Regions from separate parts of the Homo sapiens genome. Here all the other regions are linked to region 1. Evidence: promoter capture Hi-C in 16 types of primary human blood cells and fetal thymus (Javierre and others, 2016). All regions are on one chromosome and are shown on one strand. Each heading gives the region's core, a stretch centred on a gene start or on the middle of the fragment in contact. The rest is flanking DNA. Distances are from core to core; before and after follow the strand shown. Region 1 holds the start of LL22NC01-81G9.3 (a long non-coding RNA gene). Region 2 overlaps CACNG2 (calcium voltage-gated channel auxiliary subunit gamma 2). Region 3 overlaps CACNG2 (calcium voltage-gated channel auxiliary subunit gamma 2). Region 4 overlaps CACNG2 (calcium voltage-gated channel auxiliary subunit gamma 2). Region 5 overlaps CACNG2 (calcium voltage-gated channel auxiliary subunit gamma 2).

Region 1 (2,679 bases), core at 110-2,609:
CGTTTGTATTAAAATGTCCCTTTTTACCAGCCTGGCCAACATGGTGAAACCCTATCTCTACTAAAAATACAAAAATTAGCTGCGCGTGGTGGCACACACCTGTAATCCCAGCTACTCGGGATGCTGAGGCACGAGAATTGCTTGAACCTGGGAGGGGGAGGTTGTGGTGAGCTGAGATCATGCCACTGCACTCCAGCCTGGGCAACAGAGTGAGACTCTGTCTCAAAAAACAAAAAATAAAATAAAGTAAAATAAAATAAAATAAAATAAAATAAAATGTCTTTTTTTTAAAGTAGAAAATGATGTTGATAGTAAATGATATTTTCTTTTTTATTTAAAAATAAAGTTGTATTTTTCTTTCTGTTTTTAAAAATTTTTTACTCATCAATATAATTGAAAACTGTCTAGAAACCACATCTGTAGAGGTAGGGAAACAGAGAAGTAAGTTGTAATCAAGAACAACAAGGTCTCCAATCTGAGCTTTGTAGAACAAACTCCAGCATGGGGAAGAAGGCAGGAACTCAGTTGTCAGAGGCCACACAGGGTGGCCCAGCTCTCAGAAGCAAGGGTGGGCCCAGGGATGAGGACAGAGGTTCAAGGAAGTATAGGCACAACTGTGACCCTGTGAACCCCTCCTTCCCCGGGTCAGGGCTGGTCCTGGAGCTGAGGATGGAGCTGAGCCTCCAGCCGGGCAGTGGGGGAGGGTGTCTCAGTCACAGAAAGAGGAAGACCCAGGAACAGGAGGCAGACAGGTCACCACTGAGAACAAGAGAGGCCTGGACAGGCAGATTCTGCAAGTGTGGCTCAAGGCATGCAGCTGCCTCTATTCCCCATTTTTGGCTCAGATGACCCCTTCCCATAAGCAACCATGTGTGTGGGCATTTCTCTGGCCTTAGCAGAACCAGTGGCCTAGGGCAAGGCCTCTTACAAGAGACAAAGTCACTGGGAGTAGGGGATAGGGGGCTGGGGGGTGGCCAAAGAGTCACATTCTGGCACGTGGAGCTTGAGGTATCTCGTCTCTGGAACATACAAGGAAAGAGGTTCTATAGGTCATTGAATTCATAGCTCTTAGGTTTGGGGGAAGAACACTTACTTAGGAAAACCTTTAGGTAAAACCTGAGAGAGCCTGCAAACTTGAAAGCAGAGCACGTAGACCGGGATGAGAAGAGGAGCCCTGGAGACCCCTGAGGACACTGGTGCCTAAGGGCCTGGCTGAGGTGCTCGGGAGGCCAGGAGGGGAACAGAGAAGGGAAAGTCAGAGCGGGAAGGAGAAAGCAGAGTGTGGTGGGAGGCATAAAAATGGAGAGACTTTTAAGGCTCTAGGAGTGGCCATGGTGCTGGTGTTGTGTCTGAGAGGTCAAGGCAGGGGTGAATCCATCTGGTTATGTGATGTGGAGCTCCTCTGTGATGCTGGCGGAAGACCATTCTAAAGCCAGGTCATAATAAATAGAGAGAGGAGTGAATAGGAAATGGGAATATGAAGACAGCTTTTTGGAAAAGCTTGATTAGAAAGAGGAGAAAGAGATGGTATGGAAGCCTAAGGTGGATACTTGATTGGGGTGAGGGAAGGGGGAGTTTTTTTTTTTAAGATGAAAGACAGTTGGTTATGTTTTCAGGTCCTAGGAAACATACCAGAAATTAACGAGATACAAGAAAAACAGGGAGTCTATTAATGGGGTGAGGAATGTGAGAGGGATAGACGCTGGCTCATACTTGGTGGCAGTGTAGGAAAGTTGAGAAACAGTGACTGGGAAACAGGGATTCTCTGAAGCTGGGTTTATTAATTCCAAATTGCCAAGTGTCTGTTGTTGGGGACATTTCTGACATTGTGAATGTGTGATCATGTGATCCCAGGTTACATCCAATCTAACCAGCAAACAAATGTCTGTCATAAGAACAAATGATTGACTGCTGCCTAACAAACCACCTCCCAAGCTTAATGGCTGAAAACAACAACCATTTATTATTTGTCACCATTCTGTGGGTTGGCTAGGCTCACCTGGGTGGTTCTTCTGCTCCACAAAGCAGGTGAGGTCATTCATGTGGCTGCATTTAGCTGGGAGCTTGACGAGGGTGGAGTGAGAGAGGGCTTCACTGGCTTATTCCCCTCCACATGGCTTCCCATCCTCCAGGGTTTCTGTCTCCACATGGCCTCTACAGTAGGAGAGCCTGGACTGCTTTACACCATGGCTGACTTCTAAGAGAGCAAAAGAAGCTGCAAGGCCTCTTAAGGCCTAGTCTCAGAAATCATATAGCTTCACCCCCACTGCCTTCTACTGGCCAAAGGAAGTCACAAGGAGGCCCAGACCCAAGGGGAGGGGAAAGAGATTCCACATCCTTATAGGAGGAGCTGCAAAGTCAGAAGGTGGAGGAGCATGCAGGATGAGAGGGACTGTGGTCACCAAGTTTGGAAACACCTGAGCAGAGTACATCTCAGGAGTCACTGTTCTAGCTGAAACTTCATTCTCAAACATAGGGAAGCATTTCAGATGCAATTTGCAGTAAACATATCTTATGCTTTTTAAACTGCTAAGTGAATGTGAATTAGATGGAAAAAATCATTTTAAATGAACATTATAATTATGCTTTTATTACATAAATGTGCATTTGTGGTAAAATTACAAACAGTGTTTTACAAAAAGGAAAAACGGAAGTCAATTGAAATTCCACTCCCTAAAT
Region 2 (2,679 bases), core at 48-2,547, 400 kb after region 1:
GGCAAAGAGGGGAAAGACGCAGGGGTCCCCAAAGCCCTTCTTCACTTTGTGTCCCCTTGCTGCGATCATGGAGAGTTAAAGAGGCTTCCTTGGGAGAAGAGCTCTGCCACCAGGGCTTCCCCAGTGTCTTTGGGGGTCTGTGAAAAAGAGGATCCTCTGAGGTTTACTGGGAGGGCTCAAGGCTGAGGGAATGGAGAGGAAAATTTTAGCAGTTCCATCCCAGTGTAAGGACCAACCCCAAAAGTTAAACTTGCACCACAGACTAAAGGTCAAGGGCATCCTGTGTTTCTCCCCTTTCTTCCCCAGAGTGACAAGGGCCAGTTCAGACTGACAGAAATCCAACAGCTTTCCTGAGCTGGAAATTTCAGAACAGTCTGCAAGTTACTCCCAGGTGACTGAAGGTCAAGGTGAGGCCCCCCTGCCTCTGCCTGCGAGTCTCCCCCGGTTTGCATTTTTCTTGACACCGGCATTTCCTGAGGTTGAGCTCTCTGGGGAGTTCTAGAGAATGGCTAGTAAGGCTTTTTGAGCTTGCACATCTCACCTGCCTTTCCTGTCTTTTGCCTGGGAAAGGAAAGTTATTTTCCCAGGTCAGCAAGGGGCAGAACATCGGCCAGCCCAGCCCAGAAGTACAGGGGGAGGTCATGGGCCCTGGGGCAGAACAATGGGAGACAATTCAAGGTGTGGTAACAACAACCAAGTTGCCCTCAGTCTGGGCAGAAACTGAACTCTACCCCTCTCCCACCCCAATCTTGCCCGCCATCCCACCAGATTCCAGACCTAAAGGGATCAAGGATGAGAGCGAAGGGAGAAGGGAGGGTCCCCAAGAAAACCGCACCCAAGCGAGCACTGTCTGAAGAGAAAAACTAGCTCCAGTTCTCCGAATTCTGGCAGAGCGTCTGGGAAGGCGATCAGTGCTTCTTTCCATGGCGCAAGGCCTGGGTTCTGGGTGTGCTTGAAGAAAGCCACTGGGGTGTGGGGTGACATCGCCATGGCTGAGAAGGGGCTAGGGGGTCCGGAGGGAAGGAGCCAGGACCGGAACTGCAAGGGCGTTGCTGCCCAGGGGTGTGGATGATTGCTCATGTCCAGCTCAGACCAGTTCAAGAAACTAACCTCCATTTATTTTCTTGGTGAGTCCTTTTTTTTTTTTTCAGACTGTTAACAGAAAAAAAATTTTAAAAAGCAGAAAACTGAAAAAAAAAATCCTGGTACATGAAATAAAGATTTTTTTTTTTTATAGCTTGGTCCTCACTTCAGTGAATTTCTTTAATTCCTTTCCCAACTCCTGGCATCCTATTTAAAACAATCCTAAAGCTACAGATTATTGGGGATGAGAGGTTTAGATGCTGTACAGTAGGGTGTCCCCCCACTCTCTAGATCATGAGTTCCCTATTAAATATCCTTTAGGGATACTTGCACGCCTCCAGTGACAGCGGGCTCACCCCCTCCAAAGATAGCACCAGCCAGTGCTAAGCAGCACTCTTTGGCAAAAGTCTTCTCTGCACACTGAATTTTAATCCACCTCTTCCTTCACACTCCAACAACACTGAATAAATCCCTTCCCTTTTCAGCATGACAGCCCCTCAGATATTTGAAGACAGAGAGCATGACGTCCTTGAGTTTTATCTTTTAGAATAAAGCAGCCCCACTCAACATCCCAGTTACACTCCAGGGTTTCCATTTTCCCCCGTGAAATTGTGCAGTTTGGAATGGACATGACCCTACCAGTTTACTCAGGGGGCTCCCTGCAGAGGGGTGCTTCTCAGGAAGAGGAGAGCCATGGAGTGGCAGAAGAATGGGGAGGGTCCCTGGGACTCTCTTAACTTGAAGAGATGAGAAAGACAAGATGGAATGCTAACAGGAGGATTTGACCTTTGACATCAGAGAAAGGCCCCATTGGAAGGATGACCTGTCATGCCCCAAAACAGCTGTCTAAGATAACAGTGCTATCTAAGATGTGTTGGGGAAGCATACTCACTGTACAGCTCTCCTGGGGCTCCAGAGAAAGGAGATGGCAAGCAGATGACACCTACACACCGCACAGACCTAAGAGAAGGTAAGCCCTGTATGACGTGGCCCGGAAAAGTCTACTCTAGAAGGGTCCAATGTTCAAAACTCCCTGTTCAACTCAGCCTCAGTCTGCTGGGGCCACACCACCAAGCCCCCACCAATCTCAATTATCTCTCTCTCCAGGCTCACCCCTAACACTTGTGGGGTCCAGGGCAAGAGTAGAAAGGGAGGCTCACTCTCCATAACTTAAGTCTGAAGATTTAACAGCTGCACATCGAACTAACGACCTTAAAAAATGGTCTATCAGCCAGGCGAGGTGGCTCACCCCTGTAATCCCAGCACTTTGGGAGGCCGAGGAAGGTGGATCATGAGGTCAGGAGTTCAAGACCGGCCTGGCCGAGATGATGAAATCCCGTCTCTACTAAAAACACAAAAATTAGCCGAGCGTGGTGGTGGGCGCCTGCAATCCCAGCTACTCGGTAGACTGAGGCAGAGAATTGCTTGAACCCGGGAGGCAGAGGTTACAGTGAGCCGAGATCGCGCCACTGCACTCCAGCCTGGGTGACAGAGCGAGACTCTATCTCAAAAAAAATTAAAATAAAATATAAAATAAAATTTAAAAATATGGTCTATCCTCTGTCCTGGCAAATATGTCCTTGTGACAAACTAAAA
Region 3 (2,679 bases), core at 110-2,609, 390 kb after region 1:
TAATTTTTTGTATTTAGTAGAGACGGGTTTTTACCATGTTGGTCAGGCTGGTCTCAAACTCCTGACCTCAGGTGATCCACCCACCTCGGCTTCCCAAAGTGCTGGGATTACAGGTGTGAGCTATCATGCCCAGTCGAGCTGGCAGCTTTTACTGACAGCCTGGATGGGAGAAGTAAGAGAGAGGTCTTGTGGATGGCGAGGAGTTCTGGCTGGCAGATGGGGCAAACATTACTGCCCTTCTCTGAGGCTGGGAATGTAGGACGAGGCTGCTGTGCGGGGAGGTGACCACTCTATTGCCGGTCTGTTTCATCTTGGTTTCTGTTACGGAATCTTCTCCCCACGGACTGTGAACAGCTTGAGGACACCACAAGGAGTGGCTGCAAATAGAGTGTCCTCCTCCCACCCATCCACCCCCTCCAGCACAGGGCCTTTCCCAGGATCAGACCCAGGAGAGGTTTGCTAAGTGAATAAACAAGGTACCGCCCGCCCTAGGGCAGCTGGCATGTTCACCCTCTTCCCAGAATGAGGTCAGAGGAGGATATTGGGTGTCAACCTGGGCCAGAGCCACCCTTCCTGGCCTCAGACAGTGTCCCTCCTTCCCATTGCCCCTCTCTCCCCACCTCCACCAGTCCCACCAGGGAACATGAGCCAGGGAAGTGTGGGGAGACCAGGTGTCAAAACCCGAGGTTGTTACTTAGAATAAAAGGGCCTGAATTCAAGGGGTGCTCCACTCTGTGACCTTTGGCAAGTTACACAACTTCTCTGAGCCTCCCGTGAACAGTGCTTTTTTAGGTCTCCCCAGAGCCCCAGTGGAACAGCATGAGGGGCGTCCACCAGGCTTCACCCGCCTAGAGTTTTAGAAGTGTAATGATCCATCATTCCGGCTTTTTTTTTTTTTTTGAGATTGAGTCTCGCTCTGTCACCCAGGCTGGAGTGCAGTGGTGCCATCTCGGCTCACTGCAACCTCCGCCTCCTGGGTTCAAGCAATTCTTCTGTCTCAGTAGCTGGGATTACAGGTGCACGCCATCACACCCAGCTAATTTTTTGTATTTTTTTTTAGTAGAGACGGGGTTTCACCATGTTGGCCAGGTTGGTCTCAAACTCCTCACCTCAAGTGATCTGCCAGCCTTGGCCTCCCAAAGTGCTGGGATGACAGGTGTGAGCTACCGCACCCAGCCCATCATCCTAGCTTAGGATCACCCAGCCCCACCCTCCCATTTTACAGATGAGGGAAAAACGGAGGCCCAAGAGGGAAAATGACCTGCCCCAGCCCGGCACACTTTCTGGGACTGCACCCTGGGAGCATTATCCAGGTCCATTATCCTGCTACCTGTCCACTGCCCAGGGCTCTCAGCCCCTTCTAGAAAACATTGCCATGAGGGGGCTTCTGAGAGACATCCCCTCCAGAAGTCATCACAACCAGTGCGGCTAAAACTATTGTGACCCCACCCCATGGTTAGGAAACATCTAAGCTGCCACTTGTACTCACTCACATCTGCAGAACCAGAGCAAAATGTTCCCCAAAAGCCACCCAGCCTTCCTGAACGCACACTGGCCGGCAGTTTCTATTCTGTCCTAGTTCATTTCTTTTTTTTTTTTTTTTTTTTCCAAGACGGAGTCTCACTCTGTCGCCAGACTGGAGCGCGGTGGCATGATCTCGGCTCACTGCAACCTCCGCCTCCCCGGTTCAAGCGAGTCTCCTGCCTCAGCCTCCCAAGTAGGTGGGACTACGGGCCTGCGCCACCACGCCTGGCTCATTTTTGTATTTTTAGTAGAGACCGGGTTTCACCATGTTGGCCAGGATGGTCTCGATCTCTTGACCTCGTGATCCACCCGCCTCGGCCTCCCAAAGTGCTGGGATTACAGGTGTGAACCACCGCGCCCGGCCCCGGTTCATTTCTTTAAGGGCTGGTTGCTACCACTACACCGATTTCATGACCTAGTAATGAGTCACAACCCACACTTTAATAAATAGCAGCCTCAGTAACCCAAAGCCCGGTGAGAGACAGCAACAATTTGCTCCGCTGGAATGATGAGCACGATTTGCTGGTGCTCCTCGCATACCAGACATTATTCTCATTGCTTCAAGTGTGTGTACTCAGTTACTCCTCATAGCACCCTGTGAGCTAAGTGTGCTTGTGATCTCCATATGGCAGAGGGGGCAGCAGAGGCCCCCGGGGGACCAGGTCACAGCTAGGAAGATGGACTCCGGCAGCCTTTCTCCTGAGCCTGTGCGACTGGTCACCAATCTCTACTGACAGCAGGAAGCAGGGATGTATCCGGCATCCTGCACAGATGGTACTCCCCAAGTTAGCTCCCTGGGCTCTCAAAATGCTTTTCATGTGCTATTATATATAGCACACGTTCATTGAACACTTGACGATGTGCCAGGCCTGACACTTGAAACATTATCTTAATTCATCTTCACAACCACCCTATGAGGGTGAGATGATCAGTGTCCCCATCACACAGATGGGAAAGGCAAGGCACAGAGGCTACAGAGCCAGTGGGGGTCCAGGAGGAGACCCCAAGCGGGCTGCATCTGGAACCCATGCTCCAAACCATAGCGTTTGACTTCTCTTTCTATTTCTCACCCACCATCTTTGTTCTCCTCTTTCTTCTTTGAGGTCTTTCTGACTCTCTCTCTCTCACACACACACACACATACACACACACACA
Region 4 (2,679 bases), core at 111-2,610, 370 kb after region 1:
AAAATATGGTATATTCAGGGAATCCTCTAGAAGAAATTCTGCCCTTGAGGAGCTTACAGACTTGCAGCTCTTTGTTCCCAAACAACAATACACAAAGAGAATATGACCAAAGCAGCTAAAAGGTGCTTGACAGCCTCGCTACCCAACCCAAAGTGTGGCCCCCGCCACTGGGGCCTGGCAGCGTGGGCACTTCCTGCAAGCTCATGAGAAATACAGAGTCTCAGGCCACTGAGAGTCACCGAATCTGAACCTGGCTTAACGTGATCCCCAGGGGCTTCCCATGCCCATTAAAATGCTGAAAAGCACTGCATAGGAGCGTAGGAGAGGAAAGAGTCTTCCCAGCTAAGGGCAATCAAGAAAGGCCTCCTGAAAGAGGTGCCATTTGAAAGAGAAGAAAAAGAAGGAGGACCTACATTGTTGAGTATCTGTTCTGGGTTAAGAACTGCACTGGGGCCCTTCACTTCTGTTATTTCATCGAGTCTTCAAAGTTAATCCCCTTACCCCCTCGGTGAGGACTGATATTGCCTTCTTACAGCAAAGGAAACTGAGGCACAGAGAGGTCACATAACTTGCTCAAATTCACACAGCTACTAGGTAACAGAGCCAGGCTTAGAAGCCAAATCTTTCTAACTCTGGAGCCCAATCTCCTCCCCCAAATCACATGTGAAGAACTAAAGGGGCCTGGCACAGTGGGTCATGCCTGTAATCCCAGCACTTTGGGAGGCCGAGGTGGGTGGATTACCTGAGGTCATGAGCTCAAGACCAGCCTGGCCAACATGGCGAAACCCCACCTCTACTAAAAATACAAAAAATTCGCCAGGAGTGATGGCTGATGCCTGTAATCCCAGCTACTTGGGAGGCTGAGGCAGGAGAATTGCTTGAACCTGGGAGGCGGAGGTTGCAGTGAGCTGAGATCGTGCCATTGCACTCCTGCCTGAGCAACAGAGAGAGACTCTATCTCAAAACAACAACAACTAAAGAAGGAACTCTGAGTGGCTGAGGAGGGCGGATCGCTTGAGCCCAGGAGTTCAAGAACAGCCTAGGCAACATGGCGAGACCCCATCTCTACAAAAAAAATTCAAAAATTAGCTGGGCACATGCCTGTAGTCACAGCTACCCGGGAGGCTGAGGTGGGAGGATCTCTTGAGCCCAGAAGGTCAAGGCTGCAGCGAGCCATGATCACACCCCTGCACTCCAGCCTGGGCAACAGAGAGAGACCCTGTCTCAAAAAAAAGAACTGAAGAGGTAGCTATGGAGACAAGAGCCAGGACAGGATGCAACTGAAAGTTGGATGAGCAATTGTTCATTGTGGTCAGCTCCTGAGTGCTGGGGACTTCAGTGAAGTGGGAGCTCAGAGCCAATGGAAGGAGCAAATTCATGGCAGGCAGGCAGGACAGACCACTTACTTCATCTCACCCTGCCCAGTGCCTAGCACACAGTAGGCATTCGAAACTACCCACTGAGACTGCCCTCTCCCTTCTTGACCCCTAGCTCTTCCTCCCCTCCCTCCTTCCCAAAAAACAAAAAAAGAAAGAAACTACCCACTGAAAGAATGAATGAACGAACGAGAGAACGATCAAACTCATAGGATGCCACACGTTCTGTTGTTGCAAACCATCCAACCCAAGCTGGTGGCTGCGCTGTGCCCCAGGGGGCTGGGGTTCCAGCCAGAAACAAGCCAGGCATGGCCCACCCTCCCTGAGGCCTCCCGAATCCCTGCCGTCAGGGAGGTATTGCCAGGAAAGCAAAAAGCCAGGAGCAGCAAAGGTTGAAAACACAGAGAAAGCAGCTCCCACTAAACCCTTCCTTTGCTTCACTTAAAAAATTACTCAGACAGCCTCCTCCCCACGCCTCAGCTCGCTCCACCGTGTCCCCTCCTGGCTCCAGAGCTGCTCTTTCAGCTTCTCATGAATATGTGGAAAATAAAACAGAGTCTGTTCAGCCCCTAATGACCAGGTTTATGAGGAGCTTATTGTATCTAAAGAAACAAGACAGCAGTTGGTGTGAGATATTAATGTGCTTTTTACAAAGCTGATGAAACCTCCTCTTAAACTACTTAATACCTGCAAGCTGCAATTCCCAGCCTGACATGGTAAACTCCTTGAGCCAGAGCTGTGCCAGCCCACGGCACAGCCCTTGGCCTTTCCGCCTCAGCGGGGCCTGAACTCACTCAGCCTGGCGGTTGGTGGGGCACTGCCACTCTTCTGGGATGGAGGTTCCATGGAGAGTCATGGTTGTTGAGCCCCTTAGCTGAATAACCCTTTATAGTTCATGGTGGGAGAGTCTTCCCTGCATCCCCTTTCCTCTGGAAGCTCAAAGCCAATGCCTGAGGGGACAGCGGGCAGTGAGACCCCTGCACTCCACTCCAGCCATCACCCACCCTCACCCTCACCCTCACCCACCCAGCCCTCTGATGGGACCAGTCCTTTTGCAAATCTCCAATCCCACCAATTTGTCACGTCTTTGTACCAGCTGACTCCTCACATAGGATCACCCTTCATCCAGTGGTGTGCTGGTACATGTTTAACAATCAGCTCCCTGGGCTGGAGGTGGGGAACTTGGTTTGTAGCATTTGCCGTGGGTTCCCATGGTGTGAATACACCTACCACGGCTGATTTCAAACTGCTAACGAGAGCTGGGAAGACACTGGTGATGAGCTCCCTTGAGCAGGGGCGAGCC
Region 5 (2,679 bases), core at 116-2,615, 280 kb after region 1:
CCCACCCCTGCCACTGGCGGGCTGGGCCTGTTTCTTTGCCTCTACCATGAGGATAACCACCTTCTTCCCAGGCACCAAATAAATTCAGAGTGCATAGATCTGGGAAAGCCACTAGTTCAGTCCCAGCACCTCTATCAGTCCATTTCATTTCAGCTACTTTTTTTTTTTTTTTTTTTTTGAGACAGGGTCTCACTCTGTCGCCCAGGCTGTAATGCAGTGGTGCAATCATGGCTCACTGCAGCCTCAAACTGTTGGGTTCAAGCAATCCTCCCACCTCAGCATCATGAGTAGCTGGGACTACAAGTGTGCACTACCACACTGAGCTAATTTTTTTTTTAAGAGATGGGACCTTGCTGTGTTGTCAAGCCTGGTCTCAAATTTCTGGGCTCAATCGATCCTCTCACCTCCATCTCCCAAAGTGCTGGGATTACAGGGCGTGAGCCACTGCACCCAGCCCATTTCAGCTAACATTATCATTTAAGGTTAAATGAGGTGACCAGAGATATAAGAAGAAAGAGTGATTTTCCCCGAGAGCTACTGTTTGAGAGTCTCCTGTGTGCTGGGCCCTGGGCTGAGGACCATGTGTCTGTCACCTTCCCTGGCTGCACTGCACTCTGTAACATGGGTGTTAGGATTCTCATTTTACCCATTATATACCAGTGGGAGTGTATGTTTCCTATTGCTGCTGTAATAAATTACACGAACTTAGTGCTTAAAACAACAAAAACCTATTATCTGATGGTTCTGGATGTTGGAAGTCTAACCTGGGTCTCACTGGGCTAGAACCAAGGTGTGGGCAGGGCTGCATTCCTTCCGGAGGCTCTTGGAAGAATCTACTTGCTGGCCATTTCTAGCTCCTACAGGCTGCCTCCTTCCCTGGCCTGTAGCCACTTCCTCTATCTTTAAAGCCAGAGTTGTTGAACAGAGTCCTTCTCGTGATTCTCCTGCTTCCCCCCTCACACCTAAGGGCCCTGGGGATTACCACGTGCCCACCCAGATAATCCAGGATAATCTCCCTCTCTTACAGTCCGCTGATTAGCAGCCTTAATTCCATCTGCAACCTTAATCCCCTTTCCCATGCAATGTGGCGCACTCACGGGTTACAGGAATTGGGATGTGGACATCTTTGGGAGGCTGTTATTCTGCCGACCACAGGGAATGTCTACCCAAAGAATTCCCCTAATGCCACAAGCTCAGAACAGCACACCTGGAAAAGGCTTTAGAGCTTGTACCAGGAAGGATTCAATTTGACAATAAGCCACAGAAAAATAAAACTAACAGTGGTTTAAATAAGACAAAGAGTTTGTTCACAACCTAGTGTCACAACCTTGGAATAGTACACCTGGAAGAGATTTTTAGAGATTATATCAAGAAAGATTAGATTTGATGATAAGTAACAGAAAAATTAAATGAGCAGTGTCTTAAACAAAACAAAAAGTTTATTCTCTTTCAAGTAAACAAATCTGGGGCTGTAAACTACAAGGCTGGCCTGGAGGCTCCACAAACCGGTTAACAATGCAGACCCCTGCTCGCTCCCCACTCCATCATCCCCACAGTGGGTCCTTCAACCTCACAGTCAAGTAGGGCTGCCAGAGCTCCAGCCACTGCCTTCACATCCCATGGATCAAGGTGGAGGATGGCACAAAAAAACAAGGGCAAAGGGCACCTGTCACCTGGCTCCTGAGAAGGCTTCCTAGAAGGTATCACACAACATTTTTGCCTTAGTTTCATTGGGCAGAAGTTTGCTACGTGACCACACATTAGCTATAGGGAAATCTGGAAAAGATAACCTTTATTCTAGGTGGCCACATGCCTGGAGGAAAACTCGAGTTTCTGTTGCTATGGGAAAATGAGAGAGGGAAGTTGACTAGCGGCGACTCCACAGGGCTCATCTAGTCCAAATCTTCACCTTGACTTTGAAGAACATGAGGCCCAAAAAGGAAGGGACTTGGTCATGCCACGGAGTCAGCAAGTGGCAGTGCAGGGACTAGAACCCCTGTGCCCGGGTCCCAGGCAGCAAGTAGTGTGGGGTCTCCAGCACCTGACACGGTGCCTGGCACGTAGTAGCAGCTCACTCATGCTTGTGGGACGGAAGGCACTGTGCCATTCCACCACCACAATATTCCCTCCGGGTCACAGCCTCTGCTGCTGCCTCTTTGAGGGTGGATAGAATCCCCAGCTCTGGGAGGCAGGCCCATTGCATGCCTGAGTCTGTTTATCCGCCTTCCTCCCTCTTACATGCCAGCTGATACCCTTGGGGGAGCTCCGGGCTCCCCTATCTCTCCCACAAAGTCATCAAATCCAAGGGCCCTTCCGCATGAAAGAGCTGCAGGATTTGACCGAAGAGAAGCCTGAAACAGCACCAAGAAACGGAGGTTTTTCCTTCTTCTGGACTTGCTCTGTGACAGGGTCATCTCCTTAGAGATGAGCCTTTATATCTGAGGAGGGTTGTGGCAGCGAGCTGTTGCTGTTGTCTTGGTATGCCCTGGTGTCCGTTTTGACATGGTGAAGGGATTAGACAGGGGCCCATCCAAGCCAGGAGTGGTGGCCACTCTCCCCTTTCTCCTGCCAGCCTCAAAGCCAAAGAGCCTCCACCCTCAGACATTTGCAGCCTCTGCCAGTTCAGATGTCGGCAAAGATCCAGACACTTCCTTGTGCTTCTCTGTTTTCAAGTATCTG

Evidence for each region. The method cuts DNA at HindIII sites, captures the fragments that hold promoters and counts their contacts. A CHiCAGO score of 5 or more calls a contact.
Region 2: a fragment that was not itself captured here is called in contact with the fragment with the promoter of LL22NC01-81G9.3 in region 1 in 1 of 17 cell types (endothelial precursors); the score reaches 6.8 in endothelial precursors.
Region 3: a contact is called between a fragment that was not itself captured here and the fragment with the promoter of LL22NC01-81G9.3 in region 1, in 1 of 17 cell types (endothelial precursors). The highest score is 6.3, in endothelial precursors.
Region 4: a contact is called between a fragment that was not itself captured here and the fragment with the promoter of LL22NC01-81G9.3 in region 1, in 1 of 17 cell types (endothelial precursors). The highest score is 5.4, in endothelial precursors.
Region 5: a contact is called between a fragment that was not itself captured here and the fragment with the promoter of LL22NC01-81G9.3 in region 1, in 1 of 17 cell types (endothelial precursors). The highest score is 5.0, in endothelial precursors.

What each region holds. Positions count from the first base shown.
Region 1 is chr22:36,963,928-36,966,606 of GRCh38, reverse strand. LL22NC01-81G9.3 (a long non-coding RNA gene) reads right to left here and starts at 1,359. Exons shown (of 4, transcript NR_038954.1): 1 at 1,094-1,359; 2 at 100-217. The HindIII fragment of the contact is 1,620 bases long and covers 1-1,502 here.
Region 2 is chr22:36,559,426-36,562,104 of GRCh38, reverse strand. It overlaps CACNG2 (calcium voltage-gated channel auxiliary subunit gamma 2), which reads left to right. Exons shown (of 4, transcript NM_006078.5): 4 at 1-1,248. Among named protein-coding and RNA genes, the nearest start is that of EIF3D, 32 kb to the right of the region's middle. The HindIII fragment of the contact is 8,480 bases long and covers 1-2,679 here.
Region 3 is chr22:36,576,579-36,579,257 of GRCh38, reverse strand. All of the region lies in intron 2 of CACNG2 (calcium voltage-gated channel auxiliary subunit gamma 2), which reads left to right. Among named protein-coding and RNA genes, the nearest start is that of EIF3D, 49 kb to the right of the region's middle. The HindIII fragment of the contact is 7,086 bases long and covers 1-2,679 here.
Region 4 is chr22:36,595,323-36,598,001 of GRCh38, reverse strand. The region is part of intron 1 of CACNG2 (calcium voltage-gated channel auxiliary subunit gamma 2); the gene reads left to right. Among named protein-coding and RNA genes, the nearest start is that of EIF3D, 67 kb to the right of the region's middle. The HindIII fragment of the contact is 7,781 bases long and covers 1-2,679 here.
Region 5 is chr22:36,686,039-36,688,717 of GRCh38, reverse strand. The region is part of intron 1 of CACNG2 (calcium voltage-gated channel auxiliary subunit gamma 2); the gene reads left to right. Among named protein-coding and RNA genes, the nearest start is that of CACNG2, 16 kb to the left of the region's middle. The HindIII fragment of the contact is 4,590 bases long and covers 1-2,679 here.